Regions from separate parts of the Homo sapiens genome. Here all the other regions are linked to region 1. Evidence: promoter capture Hi-C in human tissues and cell types (Jung and others, 2019). All regions are on one chromosome and are shown on one strand. The core of a region is centred on a gene start or on the middle of the fragment in contact, and the rest is flanking DNA. Distances in the headings are between cores, read along the strand shown.

Region 1 (4,669 bases), core at 1,165-3,664:
AATCAAGACTGTATGATACTGGCACAGGAATATAAAAAATCAGTGGAAGAGAATAAAGAGTTCATAAACATACCCATGCACATATAGACACTAGGTATATTTGAAGACCAATGAGAACACAATAGACCTTCCAATATATGGTATTGATAAACTGGGTATTAATAAGGAGGGGGGAATCTGACTCTTACCTCATAACATATACAAAAACCAGTTGCAACTATATAAAATATCTAAACATGAAAGTGAAACTTATGGCTTTAAGCATAAATATAGGAGAGTATCTGCATGACCTTGGGACAGGGAAGGATTTATTTAAAAAGATACAAAAAGCACTAACCATAAAGAAAAAATATTGATAAACTCAGCTTTTTAAAAATTAGAACTTATCATAAAATCATCTTACAGGAAATGATGAAATAGTCCAAATAGTAGGAAAACAATCAATAAAGGACTGAGATCCAGATTACATAAATAACTCATACGAATCAATAAGAGCTATTCCAAGAGAAAAATGAGTAAAGATTTGAACTGACATGTCACAAAAGATGACTAAAAACCAATAAACATATGGAATATGTTCAATTTTATTATTAATCACGGAAACCCAAATTCAAACCTGTGGGGGTGGGCGGGTATAAGTACAGATATATATTCAAATGAGGATTTAAAAGTCTGGCATGTCTGATTTGTATATCATAGTTTTTGCAAACATCAAAAATGTATTTCCCAAGACCATTTGATGACATGGGAGAATATTTCTGACACTTCTTTTTGCAAAAATGTAGAACATCAAATGGTAAATGAAATAAAATTTGGTTTTTGACAAATAATGAAAATACATTAAAATATTAACCCTAGTTATCTGAGTGGCTAAATTTTATTTTTTCTTGGTAATGCTGTGTTTTTGAGATCTCTAAATTAATCATCCTTTTATTTTTAAATCAGAATAAATATTTGAGAAGAAAATTCAGCAAGCATAAGTGGAGCAACCATCCTTTTCTGTGATGGGAAAATTATAGGGACCTATAATTAAATGACATTCCTTTAAGCAAGAATTTTCAGAAGAAAAAGAGGAAACCCCAACACACCTTGGATACTGCTTGTAGAAGTTCATCATGCATTCTTTCCTCCTCTTCTGGGTGACACCTGGAGAAAGGTAAAATTGGGAGAGGGAAGAGTAACTGTGAGACACCAGGTTTTTCTTGGTACCCAGATTAGTCAAGTAAGAGTTCTTCCCCAGCCCCATTACCCACCACACATGAGGAATGGAGATCAGAGGAGAATGGGGCATTCTGTCCAATTCCAGTGGCTCAGGGGAAAGGTTGTGTTCACTGCTGTCCAGGGTTGGAATCTGACCAGACCTCAGAGAGGTTTCCTAGAGACAGAGTTCTGGAGTCACAATCGCATAGTTGACAGGACCCCATACTCATACACAGAATGCCACATACATTTAGGGACAGTCACACTTAAGGCGACATGCACGTCTCACCTGCCCACAAGGAGCCACACACGGCAACACAGTTACAATCACATACACACCATAGGAAACACACAATTACAGCTGCACAATCGTAGGCACCCCACACTGTCGCAGAGTCACAATCACACATCACCACGGGAACACACAGCCACAACCCCCACAGTGACAGGTATCCCATATCCGCACATAAGCCGCAGTGTTATTATCTCCCAGACAATTTCACAACCTCCCCTCTTTTTTTGGGGGGGTGGGGTGGGGTGGGGACAGAGTCTTGCCCTGTCGCCAGGCTGGAGTGCAGTGGTGCGATCTCGGCTCACTGCAACCTCCGCCTCCCGGGTTCAAGTGATTCTCCTGCCTCAGCCTGCGAGTAGCTGGGATTACAGGCGCGCGCCACCATGCCTAGCTAATTTTTGTATTTTTAGTAGAGATGGGGTTTCACCATGTTGGCCAGGATGGTCTCGATCTCTTGACCTCGTGATCCTCCTGCCTCGGCCTCCCAAACACAACCTCCACCTTTCAGGCCGCTCCGCCCGCAGGGGCCCAAGGCGCCAGCTCCCCATCGGTCTTCGGTATCCTCACCTAAGCCCTTTCCAGTCATCCCGGATGGGAACTTGCAGACCTGAGCCAGTTCTCCTGGGGACCAAAATATCTCACCTCCCAGATCTAAGGGTCCCGCCAGGAGTGACGAAACGTTCGAATTCCTGCGAGAAAAGTGGCAGGCCACCAGGCCCTCTGGGAAATGTAGTCCAGAGCGGGACCCACGCCGATTCCTGTCAGCTCCTCGCCTGGGCCCACCCGAAACGGCTGCTCCCTCAACTCTCAACATCCAGCCGAGCCTCGGAGTTGCGGGTCGCCGTAGCGCTGCGCAATGGAGATGAGCCTCCCGGGGAACCCGGCCCAAGCCTCACCCTCACACAGGAAAGCAGATGTGTTCTGGCCGGAAGTTGAGTGGGGCCGCGGGGCCTGCTGGGAGGTGTTGTCCTCGGAAACGTCGCTGGCGCGGAGGGATGGTTCGGCGCTTTAGGCGTCTGTCACAGACCTATCTGCGGGTCGCCTTCACCCAGCATCTCAGAAACTGCGCGCGGGATGAACATTCGGGTGTTTCCGGCAGGTGACGCTGCCGAGTCCCCGCAGCAGGGGGCGAGCAAGGGACTCGCGGTTGACGGGACACGGATCCTCTAAGGCCCAGAGTGTCCCGAGTAGCGGCAGTGGGGAGTGCTCAGGGTACGCTAATGGTGAGTGGTTGCAGTTGATGGGACAAAAAACTGTGATGGGAGTTAGTGTGGGTGTGTGGTTGTGTGTGTGAGTGTGACGGCACGAATAATCTGATGGGGTGATTGTGATATTTGGTTGCGCGGGATTATGATGAAATGTGTGATATGTGTGTGATTATGATTAAGGCTGTAGCGAGTGTGAACGTGGCGAAGTGTGCGTGATTGTAATATGTCTAGTAGTTCTTGTCTTGAGCTGGCTTTTCTGTAGCATTTGGCACAGTTGGTAACGGCTTGAAAAACACTTATTTGTTTTCTACTGATCCTCCCTCCTTGTTGGCCACTCCTCTGTAGTCTTCTTTGCTGTCTTTTTTACCCTAGTAGCCCTTGGCCCTTTGTAATTTTCCACTATTCCTTGGCGAACTTTTCAGGTTCATTATTATCTTATGACTTGCTGCTTTTATGTATGTTAGTTAGCTATTGCCATGATAATAATTATGTCTAAAAACCACCCCTGAACTCAATGCCATACAACAGCAAGTCCTTACTCTCCTGTTCACAGGCTTGCGCATTGACTGTGTTCAGCTGATCTAGGTGGGGCTTGGCTGAGTGGATAGGCTGCGTGACGAGTTAAGATCTGCGCCGCATGTGTTCTTTCAGGGTCTCAGGCCAAAAGGACATTTGTTGCCAGGGCATGCTCTGCTCCTGATGGGTCACCAGAGCGCAAGAGAGATTGCCTCAACCAGAGCAAGTCACATGGCTAAGCCTAAAATCAATTATGCCCACAGTTGGAGAGCAAAGTTACCTCGCAAAGAGTATGAATAATAATCTATTAGAGGGTGTGAGGAATTGGACTAAAATTCCAGTCTACCACCTTAAGAAACATACCTCTTTATCCTGGTGAATGCCTTTTAGTCCGGGTTCTCTTTTGTCTGATAATATTGCTTTTCAAGTTTTATTGTATTTCTTAAGAATTTCATTTTCTAACCCCCTTGTGTCTTTATGTTTCAGATCTGTGTCTTGTAAAGAGCATATTGCTGGGCTTACATCCGTTTATCTTGTTTGACTGTTATTTTAATAGGTGAGTATAGTTCAGTGGCATTTATCATGATTGCTCATAAAAAATGTTTTATTTTCTATTACGCCTTAAACATTTTTGATTGACATATAATAGTTGCACATATATCTTTTTTTATTGTGCAAATTCACCTTATCCCTTTTTCTCCCCTAGGTTGGTTTCTGCTATTATCCTTTTTTAATATGCATGCTTAACAAAACTCAACCTTAAGACTTTAAAATACTTGAACTCCAAAATATCCACCAATTTCTGTGTTATTCTTGTCTCATATATTATTTTCTTCTAGTTTTTGTTGTTGTTGTTGTTTTGTTTTGTTTTTTTGAGACGGAGTCTCGCTCTGTCACCCAGGCTGGAGTGCAGTGGCACGGTCTCGGCTCACTGCAAACTCCGCCTCCCGAGTTCAAGCGATTCTCCTGCCTCAGCCTCCCGAGTAGCTGGGACTACAGACGCGCCACCACGCCCGGCTGATTTTTTGTATTTTTAGCAGAGACAGGGTTTCACCATGTTAGCCACCATGGTAGATCTCCTGACCTCGTGATTTGCCGACCTCAGCCTCCCAAAGTGCTGGGATTACAGGCGTAAGCCACCATGCCCAGCCTATTCTCTTCTAGTTTTAAATCCCCAAATTAGTAGTAGTAGCTCATTTATTCTATATACAGTTCGTATCCAGGAGGGGTTGGTTTCAAGACCCCCCATGGATACCAGAATCCACAGATGCTCAAGTCCCTACATCCTTCTTTATACATTAAATCATCTCTAGATTATTTGTAATACCTAATATAATGTAAATGCTGTGTAAATCATTGTTACACGTTATTGTTTAGGGAATAATGAGAAAAAAATCTGTACTGTACGTGTTCAGTACAGACACAACTGTAGTAGGCCTAACTGTATTTTTTA
Region 2 (4,669 bases), core at 1,257-3,756, 810 kb after region 1:
TTAAATTTTTTTGCAGAGACAGGGCCTCACTATGTTGTCCAGGTTGGTCTCAAACTCTGGGGCTCAAGTGATCCTCCCACCTGAGCCTCTCAAAGTGTTGAGATTACAGGTGTGAGCCACTACGCCCAGCTCAATCATCTTTTAAGCAATTTAAATAATAAGATATATTTACCCACATATTAGTCATTTCCTATGTAGGTCCAAATTTCCATCTGATATCACTTTCCATTTGTCTGAAGAACCTTAACATTTCTTAGAGTGTAGGAAAGCATCAATCCTCTCATCTTTTAGATGTCTAAAAAAATCAGACATCCACAAATTTTCACCTTCGTACAAAAGTATTTTCACATTGTATAGAATTCAAGGTAACATTTTTCATTTCTGCGCTATACAAGAATTTTGCTCAACTGTCTTCTAGGTTATGTTGGTTTCAACAAGAAATACTTTTATTCTTGCATTTGTTCCTCTCTATGTAGTCTCCTTTCTCTGCTGACTTACTCTTTATCACTATTTTAAAGCAATTAGATTATGATCAGTCTTTGTTTAGATTTCTACATTTCTTGTGATTAGAATTCACTGAGTTGCTTCAATTTGTAAGTCTACAGTTTTCACCAATTGGGAAAATTTTTAAGCTTACTAATCCTTTTCCTGCAATATCTAATCATTTCTCCAGAGTATTTTACATCTCAGACATTGTAGTTTTCATTTGTGGATGTTTAATGTGGTTTAAAAAAACATCTCCCATGATTCTCCTAAAAGTGCTTATATTTCAGCCAGGTGCAGTGGCTTACACATGTAATCCCAGCAGTTTGAGAGGCTAAAGCAAGACCCTGTCTCTACTAGAAAATACAAAAAATTAGCTGGGCATGGTGGTGCATGCCTGCAGTCCCAGCTACCAGGGAGGCTGAGGTGGGAAGATCAACTGAGCTCAAGAGGTCGAGGCTGCAGTGAGCCATGACTGGGCCACTGCACTCCAGTCTGGGCCAAAGAGTGATACCCTGTCTTTAAAAAAAAAAAGAAAAAAAAAGTGCTTATATTTTGGTCTACCTTTGTCAACATATGAAATATCATTATAATTATTCTGATAACCTGTCAATTCTAATACGTGAGACAATTTTGATTAATCAATTTTGCTCCTCGTTATGTGTCATGTTTTCCTGGTCCTTTGCATGTCTTGTAACCTTTTTTTTTTTCTTTTTTTGAGACAGAGTCTCGATCTTGTTGCCCAGGCTGGATTGTAATGGTGTGATCTCTGCTCACTGCAACTTCCACCTCCCCGGGTTCAAGTGATTCTCCTGCCTCAGCCTCCCGAGTAGCTGGGATTACAGGCATGCACCACCAGGCCCGACTAATTTTTTGTATTTTTAGTAGAAACGGGTTTTCTTCGTTTTGGTCAGGCTGGTCTGGAACTCCCAACCTCAGATGATCTGCCCACCTCAGCCTCCCAAAGTGCTGGGATTACAGGCGTGAGCCACTGCACCCACCCGTCTTGTAACTTTTGATTGGATGCTAAACATTGAAATGTTACCTTGCCAGGTATTCTGGTATATTTTTCAATATTTTTGAGCTTTGTTTTGAAATATAGTTCACGTAACTTGAAAACAGTTTGATCTTTTTCATGGGTTCTTTTTCAGCTTTGATAAGGCAGGACCAGAGCAAGACTAATTAGTCCAAAGCTGATTTTTCCTCTCTCTTAAGACAGTATACTTCTGAGTATCCGAGGTCTTGTGAATTATGAGGGTTTTTCCACTTTGGCTATTGGTAACACCTGCTATTCCTGGACTTGTTTGAGCTATGAGGATTATTCCCTCTATTCATTTCAAGTGGGTTTTTCCACAGCTTCAGGTGTTTTCACATATAGCTAACTGGTCAGTACTTTCAGCTGAAGATTCAAAGGGAACTCCCTGGCAGCGCTCCAGAGATCTCTTCATGGAGGTTGTTCCTGTCTAGTACTTTGTTCCACATACCCTGGCTTCTGCAAATCCTCAAGTTTGTGTCTCAATTCGGGAAGAACACTGGGCTCTGCTTCTGTTAACTCTCCCTGAGCAATGGACTGAAAATACTCCAGATGTTAAGTTGGGAGAAATAATAGAGCTCACCTTGGTGGTTTCTGCAAATGGGGATTGTGGTCTGCTTGTTGTTCAGTGTCTGAAAACTGTCATTCTATATATTTTTAAAAATTATTGAGATGGGAGGGTACATCCTACCCTGTTATTATATCTTAAAAGTAAGCAAAATTTTAATTTTTTTTTTTTTGAGATAGGGTCTTGCTTTGTAGTCCAGGCTAACGTGCAGTGGTGCCCTCATGGCAGCCTCAAACTCCTGGCTCAAGCGATCCTCTTGCCTCAGCTTCCCGAGTAACTGGGACTACAGGTGCATGCCACCATGCCTGGCAATTTTTTTTTTTACTTTTTGTAGAGATGAGTCTTGTTGTTTTGTTCTCCAGCCTTGTCTCAAACTCCTGGGCTCAAAGGATCCTCCCACCTTGGCTTCCCAAAATGTGGGGATTACAGGAGTGAGCCACTGTGTTCAGCCTAAAATTATATCTTGCTTTATCTCAATAATGCTTATTTAAGAAGAAAAAGCTAAAAGAAAAACACTTAATGATCTCTTCCATAAGATCACCAAGACCAAGGCCCTGATCAAGAAACATGTGGTTGATAATCCACATGGTAAAGCTTTCTTTTTTTGTGATTACGTCTTTGCATGCGTGTGTCTCAGTGAAGACCATGGAAACTAGAGGAGTATCTAAAAATTGCTCAATTACCATTAACTGTAGAGAGAAAAATAGGAAGGAATAGAACATAAGTGCATAAAAATAGTAAGAATAGCCAGGCACAGTGGCTCACGCCTGTAACCCCAGCACTTTGGGAGGCCAAGGCGGGTGGATCACAAGGCCAGGAGTTCAAGACCAGCCTGGCCAAGATGGTGAAACCCTGTCTCTACTAAAAATACAAAAAATTAGCCAGGTGTGGTGGCGGACACCTGTAATCCAGCTATTTGGGAGGCTGAGGCAGAGAATTGCTTGAACCCGGGAGGCGGAGGTTGCAGTGAGCCAAGATCGCACCACTGCACTCCAGCCTGGGCAACAGAGTGAGACTCCGTCTCAAAAAAATAAAATATAAATCAATATTACAACTTTTTTGCATATTGTTTCCACTTTAAAATATTTAAGATGCTTTCAGACCGGGCGTGGTGGCTCAAGCCTGTAATCCCAGCACTTTGGGAGGCCAAGGCGGGCGGATCACGAGGTCAGGAGATTGAGACCATCCTGGCTAACATGGTGAAACCCCGTCTCTACTAAAAATAAAAAAATTAGCCGGGCAAGGTGATGGGCACCTGTAATCCCAGCTACTCGGGAGGCTGAGGCAGGAGAATGGTGTGAACCTGGGAGATGGAGCTTGCAGTGAGCCGAGATCATGCCACTGCATTCCAGCCTGGGCCACAGAGCGAGACTCCGTCTCAAAGAAAAAAAAAAGATGCTTTCAAGTATCTGCTAAAAATTAACGACTTTTCTTTGCTTTTTTAGAGACAGGTTCTCACTCTATTGCCCAGGATAGAGTGCAGTAGTGCCATCATAGCTCACTGCAATCTCAAACTCCTAGGATCAAGCAATCCTCCTGCCTTGGCCTCCAGAGTAGCTGGTACTACAGGCATGCACCAGTATGCCTAATTAAAAAAAATTTTTTTTTGTAGACACAGGGTCTCACTATGTTGCCAGGGCTGTTCTTGAACTCCTGACTTCAAGTAATCCTCCCTCTTCGGCCTCCCAAAGTGCTGGAATTAAAGGCGTGAGCCACCACACCCAGCCTATGATTTTTAATATATACCTAACATTGCTCAATTAATTTTGCAAATGATAATTAAGTGCTTGGCAATATTTCATTGGTTAAATCCATAAGATTATTTTTTATCTGAATAGAATATAAGTATTCAGAATATTCCTAATAGAAAGTTTTCTAATAATGGAAACATTGTATACAGTAGTCTCCCTCTTATCTGCAGGGGTTATGTTCCAAGACCCCCAGGGGAAGCCTGAAACCAAGGATGGCACCAAACCATCCTATTTTTTTACTAAACATATGTACTTATGATAAAGTTTAATTTATAAATTAGGCACAGCAAGAGATTAACAACAAGGAAACATTAGATAAAGAGGGGACTACTGTATCTGTAAAGTCCAATACACATGGCTATTGAACACTTAACTGTGACTAGTCCTACTGGTGAACTCAATTTTATGCCTTATTAAATTTAAATTAATTTAAAATGGCCACGTGTAGCTGGTGGCTACTGTATCTACCTGACAGTGCAGATCTAGAGGAATGTCAATTGCTTAATATTTAATGCAATCAATGCTAATTATGTGACAAATTATAATTTTAACATGAGGCAATAAAATAAAACTATTAGTGGATATTTACTCACCCTGCATTAAAATTTTTCACACATTAAAGAATCTGTCATTCTCATGAGGGCTGCTGGTAAGTATCCAAACACGTCTAAGCAGCAATGCATTTTATATATATATTTTTTTGAGATGAAGTTTCGTTCTTGTTGCCCAGGCTGGAGTGCAATGGCCCCATCTTGGCTCACTGCAACCTCTGTCTCCTGGATTCAAGCAATTCTCCTGCCTCAGCCTCCCGAGTAGCTGGGATTACAGGCATGC
Region 3 (4,669 bases), core at 1,595-4,094, 590 kb after region 1:
TTTGTATTTTTAGTAGAGACGGGGTTTCATCATGTTAGCCAGGATGGTCTCGATCTCCTGACCTCGTGATCTGCCCGCCTCGGCCTCCCAAAGTGCTGGGATTACAGGCGTGAGCCACCGCGCCCAGCAGACAATTGATGCATTTTCATATATTCATCTGGTATAGCTACAAATTGATTCTGTGTGGAAGAAATAACCTTAAAGGTATGGTTTTATTGCCCTGTAGGGATATTAAATAGTTTTATATCTAACTTTGCAATCTTATTCGAAGATTCTATTGTTTTTCACTGAAGATAGGTATATACCTGTTCACTTGGAAATCAATTTCCAATGCCCTTGCTAATAAGTGAAATGAATCTTTGAATATCTGTAAAAGAGTTAAAAATTATAAGTTTTTGAAAATTATACTTTGATACTTGTTTCACCCATTGCCCCGGTGCTCTTCCTGCCTCCACATACTCTGAGGACAGGATGGGCTGTGGCCTCTCCTCATCCCAGGCTACTTCCACGGTCAACCTTGATCCAGGAGATGGTCACATCCCACCCAGATCCAGAGCACCCTACACTCATGCCAAGATACAGCCCTATTGACACTCAGGCCACAGCCTGGGAAAGATGGCAAGACCCCATCTCTACAAAAAAATAAAAATAAAAATAAATTAGCTGGGCATGGTGGTGTGTACCAGTAGTCCCAGCTACTTGGGAGGCTGAGGCAGGGGGATCACTTGAGGCCAGGAGTTCAAGGCTGCAGTGAGCCATGATTGTGCCACTGCACTCTAGCCTGGGCAACAGAGTAAGATCCTGTCTCTAAAAAAAAAAAAAAAAAAAAAACCAAAAAGCCAAACTAAACCAGACAAAACACCAAAAAATAAAAATAAAAAAAAAACAGCAACAAACTGAAGGGGGCCTGCCCCTCCACACCTGTGGGTATTTCTTGCAAGGTGGAGACGAGAGACTGAGAAAAGAAATAAGACACAAAGTATAGAGGAAGAAAAGTGGGCCCAGGGGACCAGCGCTCAGCATACAGAGGACCCGCGCTGGCCCCAGTCTCTGAATTCCCTCAGTATTTATTGATCACTATGTTGACCATCTCGGAGAGGGGCATGTGGCAGGACTATAGGGTAATGGTGGGGAGAGGGTCAGCAGGAAAACGTGAGCAAAGGACTCTGTGTCATAAATAAGTTTAAGGAAAGGTGCTGTGCCTTGATGTGCACGTAGGCCAGATTTATGTTTAACTTTACACGAACATCTCAGTGCAGTAAAGAGTATTGCCACCAGCATGTCTCAGCAACCACAAGGCGGTTTTCTCCTATCTCGGTAAATAGAATGTATGATCAGGTTTTATGAGACATTCCATTCCCAGGGACGAGCAGGAGACAGATGCCTTCCTCTTATCTCAACTGCAAAGAGGGCTTCCTCTTTCACTAATCCTCCTCAGCACAGACCCTTTACGGGTGTCGGGCTGGGGGATGGTCAGGTCTTTCCCTTCCCAGGAGGCCATATCTCAGGCTATCACATGGGAAGAAATCTTGGACAATACCCAGGCTTTCTTGGGCAGAGGTCCCTGTGGCCTTCCTCAGTGTATTGTGTCCCTGGGTACTCGAGACTGGAGATTGGTGATGACTTTTACCAAGCATACTGCCTGCAAACACATTTTTCACAAAGCACATCCTGCACAGCCCTAAATCCATTAAACCTTGAGTCAATACAGCACCTGTTTCTGCAAGCACAGGGTTGGGGCTAGGGTTACAGATTAACAGCATCTCAAGGCAGAAGAATTTCTCTTAGTACAGATCAAAATGAAGTTTCTTATGTCTTCCTTTCTCTACATAAACACAATAACAGTCTGATCTATTTTTCTTTCCCCCACAACAAACAACACTCAGGCCCAGGTAAGGTCCTTTCTGCTCCAGAGCAAGGAAGCGCTGTGCCTCCTTTTAGGCCAAATTTGGGGCCCTGTACCCTTTTAAATGATGACAGTGTCTAGGGCCACCACATTTAGTTCAAGGCTTGGACCTATAGGCATAAGCTCACTGGAACAGGTGAGAGCTGATGGTCACTGCAGGTTGGGTTAGCCCAGAGCCTTGGAGCTAGTCTGCCTAGAGGCTCCTTTCTCGAATTCCTCTGCCTAGAGGAATCACACTGTCATAGGCCATAAATGCTAATGATGACCTTGGCAGGGTCCTATCTTTCTGCAGACTATGATAAAGTTCTGTTACTTCTTTTCTCACTCCCTCTGTTCCCTGGCCCACATCATTACTCAATACTCTGAATAGTATGCTTTTTCTTTTAAAAATGAAGGTATAATTTACATATAATAACACAAATAAGTGTTCACTTTGATGAGTCTTTGACAATTACGTAGGCCCATGAAACTACCACATAAAACAAGACATAGAACATTTTCCTCACCCCCTAAATTATCTTCGAAGTCATAGCCCCAGCCAGGCACAGTGGCTTACGCCTGTAATCCCAGCACTTTGGGAGGCTGAGGCATGCGGATCGCTTGAGGTCAGGAGTTTGAGACCAGCCTGGCTAAGATGGTGAAACGCCATCTCTACTAAAAATACAAAAATTAGCCGGGTGTGATGGCGCATGCCTGTAATCCCAGCTACCTGGGAGGCTGAGGCACGAGAATCACTTGAACCTGGAAGGAGGTTGCAGTGGGCCGAGATGGAGATCTCACCACTGCACTCCAGCCTGGGAGACAGAGTAGAGACTCTGTCTCAGAAAAAAAAAAAAAAAAAAAAAAAATAGCCCCTGGAGTCAACTGCTTTCTGATTTATAACTCAATAGATCTGTTTTGCCTGTTCTTGAGTTTCTCATGACTGGAGTCCTACAGTGTGTACTCTTCTTTTACCTGTTTCCTCTTTCCATGTGTACTCCTTCCCCAATCAAGAGGTCAGCTCCTTGAGTAGCCTCTATTTTTACTCGAGTACTCAGTCTTCTTTTTCCCAATTCAGTTGCTGAGATATATTTAGGTTCTAATAAATTTTGGGTAAAATTTAATAATGATGCTAATGATCCTTTACTTCTGAATAACACAGAAACACCCAGCTCTGAATCCTTGTTGCTTTATTTACTCACTGAATGATTACGGACAGGTCACCTCACCCCCGTGTTGCAGTTTCTTTTGAAGCGTGATGATAACACTATCTTTACAATGTTTGTGGCAGTCTTTAATGTTATTCCAAAATATCGCCAGCTCTTCCCATCCCAGAATTATGGTAGGATTACATGTCTGCTATCACACTCCTGGGTGGCCATGTGACGTCTCAAAGACTAGTGAATGGAAATGACATGTATAGTTTTTGAGGCAGAACGTTTAATTCCCAGCAAAAGACCCTCAAAGGCTGTCTTTCCCTCGGCCTTCATGAGTGACAATTTACCAGTTGTGGCTGCTTTATTGGTCTAATCCTAGAATAAGAACAGCCCTTGAAGTGAGCAGGCCAGTGATCAATCAGGCATTTAATAGGCACTTTATAAATACTCATTTTACTTCAATATTATTATTTTTGTTTTTTTAGAGACAGAGTCTCACCCAGGCTGGAGTGCAATGGCACAATCTTGGCCCACTGAAACCTCCACCTCCTGGGTTCAGTGATTCTCCTACCTCAGCCTCCCGAGCAGCTGGAATTATAGGCGTCCACCATGCCGGCTAATTTTTGTATTTTTAGTAGAGACGGGGTTCCAACATGTTGGCCGGGTTGGTCTTGAACTCCTGACCTCAGGTGATCTGCCCACCTTGGCTTCTCAAAGTGCTGGAATTACATGTGTGAGCTACCATGCCCAGCCTAAATGGTGATTTTAAATTAATTACTATAATCACTTCAAAGTGTTGTCATATAAACCACTTATATTAAATCAAATGAAGCAAGGACCCTTGACCTCTTTGTTAAATTTTAAAAATCTAGCAGAGCCATAGGCCTTTAATTTTTCCATCGCAAGGAAGAAGAGGAAACTGGTAATAATCTCCTCTGACAGAATAATCTCGCAACTTTAGGAACTTTATTTAAAGAATTCAGAAATGGGGTTGGGCGCGGTGGCTCACACCTGTAGTCCCAGCACTTTGGGAGGTCGAGGCAGGCGGATCACCTGAGGTCGGGAGTTCGAGACCAGCCTGACCAACATGGAGAAACCCCGTCTCTACTAAAAATACAAAATTAGCCTGGCGTGGTGGTGCATGCCTGTAATCCCAGCTACTCAGGAGGCTGAGGCAGGAGAATCGCTTGAACCCGGGAGGCAGAGGTTGCGGTGAGCTGAAATTGCACCAATGCACTCCAGCCTAGGCAACAAGAGCGAAACTCCGTCTCAAAAAAAAAAAAAAAGAAGAAATGTCAATTGTAGCATTTTAACACAGCATTGAAGTTATCTACTGATGCATAGCAAATTACCCTAAACTCAGAAGCTTAAAACAACAAACATGTAGTATCTTACACACTTTCTGAGGGTGAGGAATATAGGAGCTGCTATAGCTGAGTGCTTGTGACTGTGTCTCTCACGCAGTTGCAGTCAAACTATTGGCAGGGGCTGCTGTCATCTCAAGGTTTGACTGGGGCTGGGAGATGTGCTTCCAAGGGTGATACACTTGGTTATAGGAAGGCCCCAGCTACTCCCAGGCTATTGGGTGGAGGGCTTAGTTCCTTGCTACCTGGGCCTCTCCATAGGC

The links. Contacts are between HindIII fragments. The study calls those that stand out against the background at their distance.
Region 2: a fragment that was not itself captured here is called in contact with the fragment with the promoter of ZNF829 in region 1 in 1 of the 25 tissues and cell types used here (dorsolateral prefrontal cortex).
Region 3: a contact is called between a fragment that was not itself captured here and the fragment with the promoter of ZNF829 in region 1, in 1 of the 25 tissues and cell types used here (dorsolateral prefrontal cortex).

The regions. Positions count from the first base shown.
Region 1 is chr19:36,913,877-36,918,545 of GRCh38, forward strand. ZNF829 (zinc finger protein 829) reads right to left here and starts at 2,415. Exons shown (of 6, transcript NM_001037232.4): 1 at 2,135-2,415; 2 at 1,254-1,375; 3 at 1,089-1,146. The coding sequence starts at 1,291. ZNF568 (zinc finger protein 568) reads left to right here and starts at 2,456. Exons shown (of 7, transcript NM_198539.4): 1 at 2,456-2,715; 2 at 3,703-3,772. RefSeq lists enhancers at 2,051-2,100, 2,161-2,540. The HindIII fragment of the contact is 11,398 bases long and covers 1-4,669 here.
Region 2 is chr19:37,723,455-37,728,123 of GRCh38, forward strand. No RefSeq gene overlaps it. Among named protein-coding and RNA genes, the nearest start is that of ZNF607, 6.0 kb to the left of the region's middle. The HindIII fragment of the contact is 5,602 bases long and covers 1-4,669 here.
Region 3 is chr19:37,500,848-37,505,516 of GRCh38, forward strand. All of the region lies in intron 2 of ZNF793-AS1 (ZNF793 antisense RNA 1), which reads right to left. Among named protein-coding and RNA genes, the nearest start is that of ZNF793, 3.8 kb to the right of the region's middle. The HindIII fragment of the contact is 3,954 bases long and covers 868-4,669 here.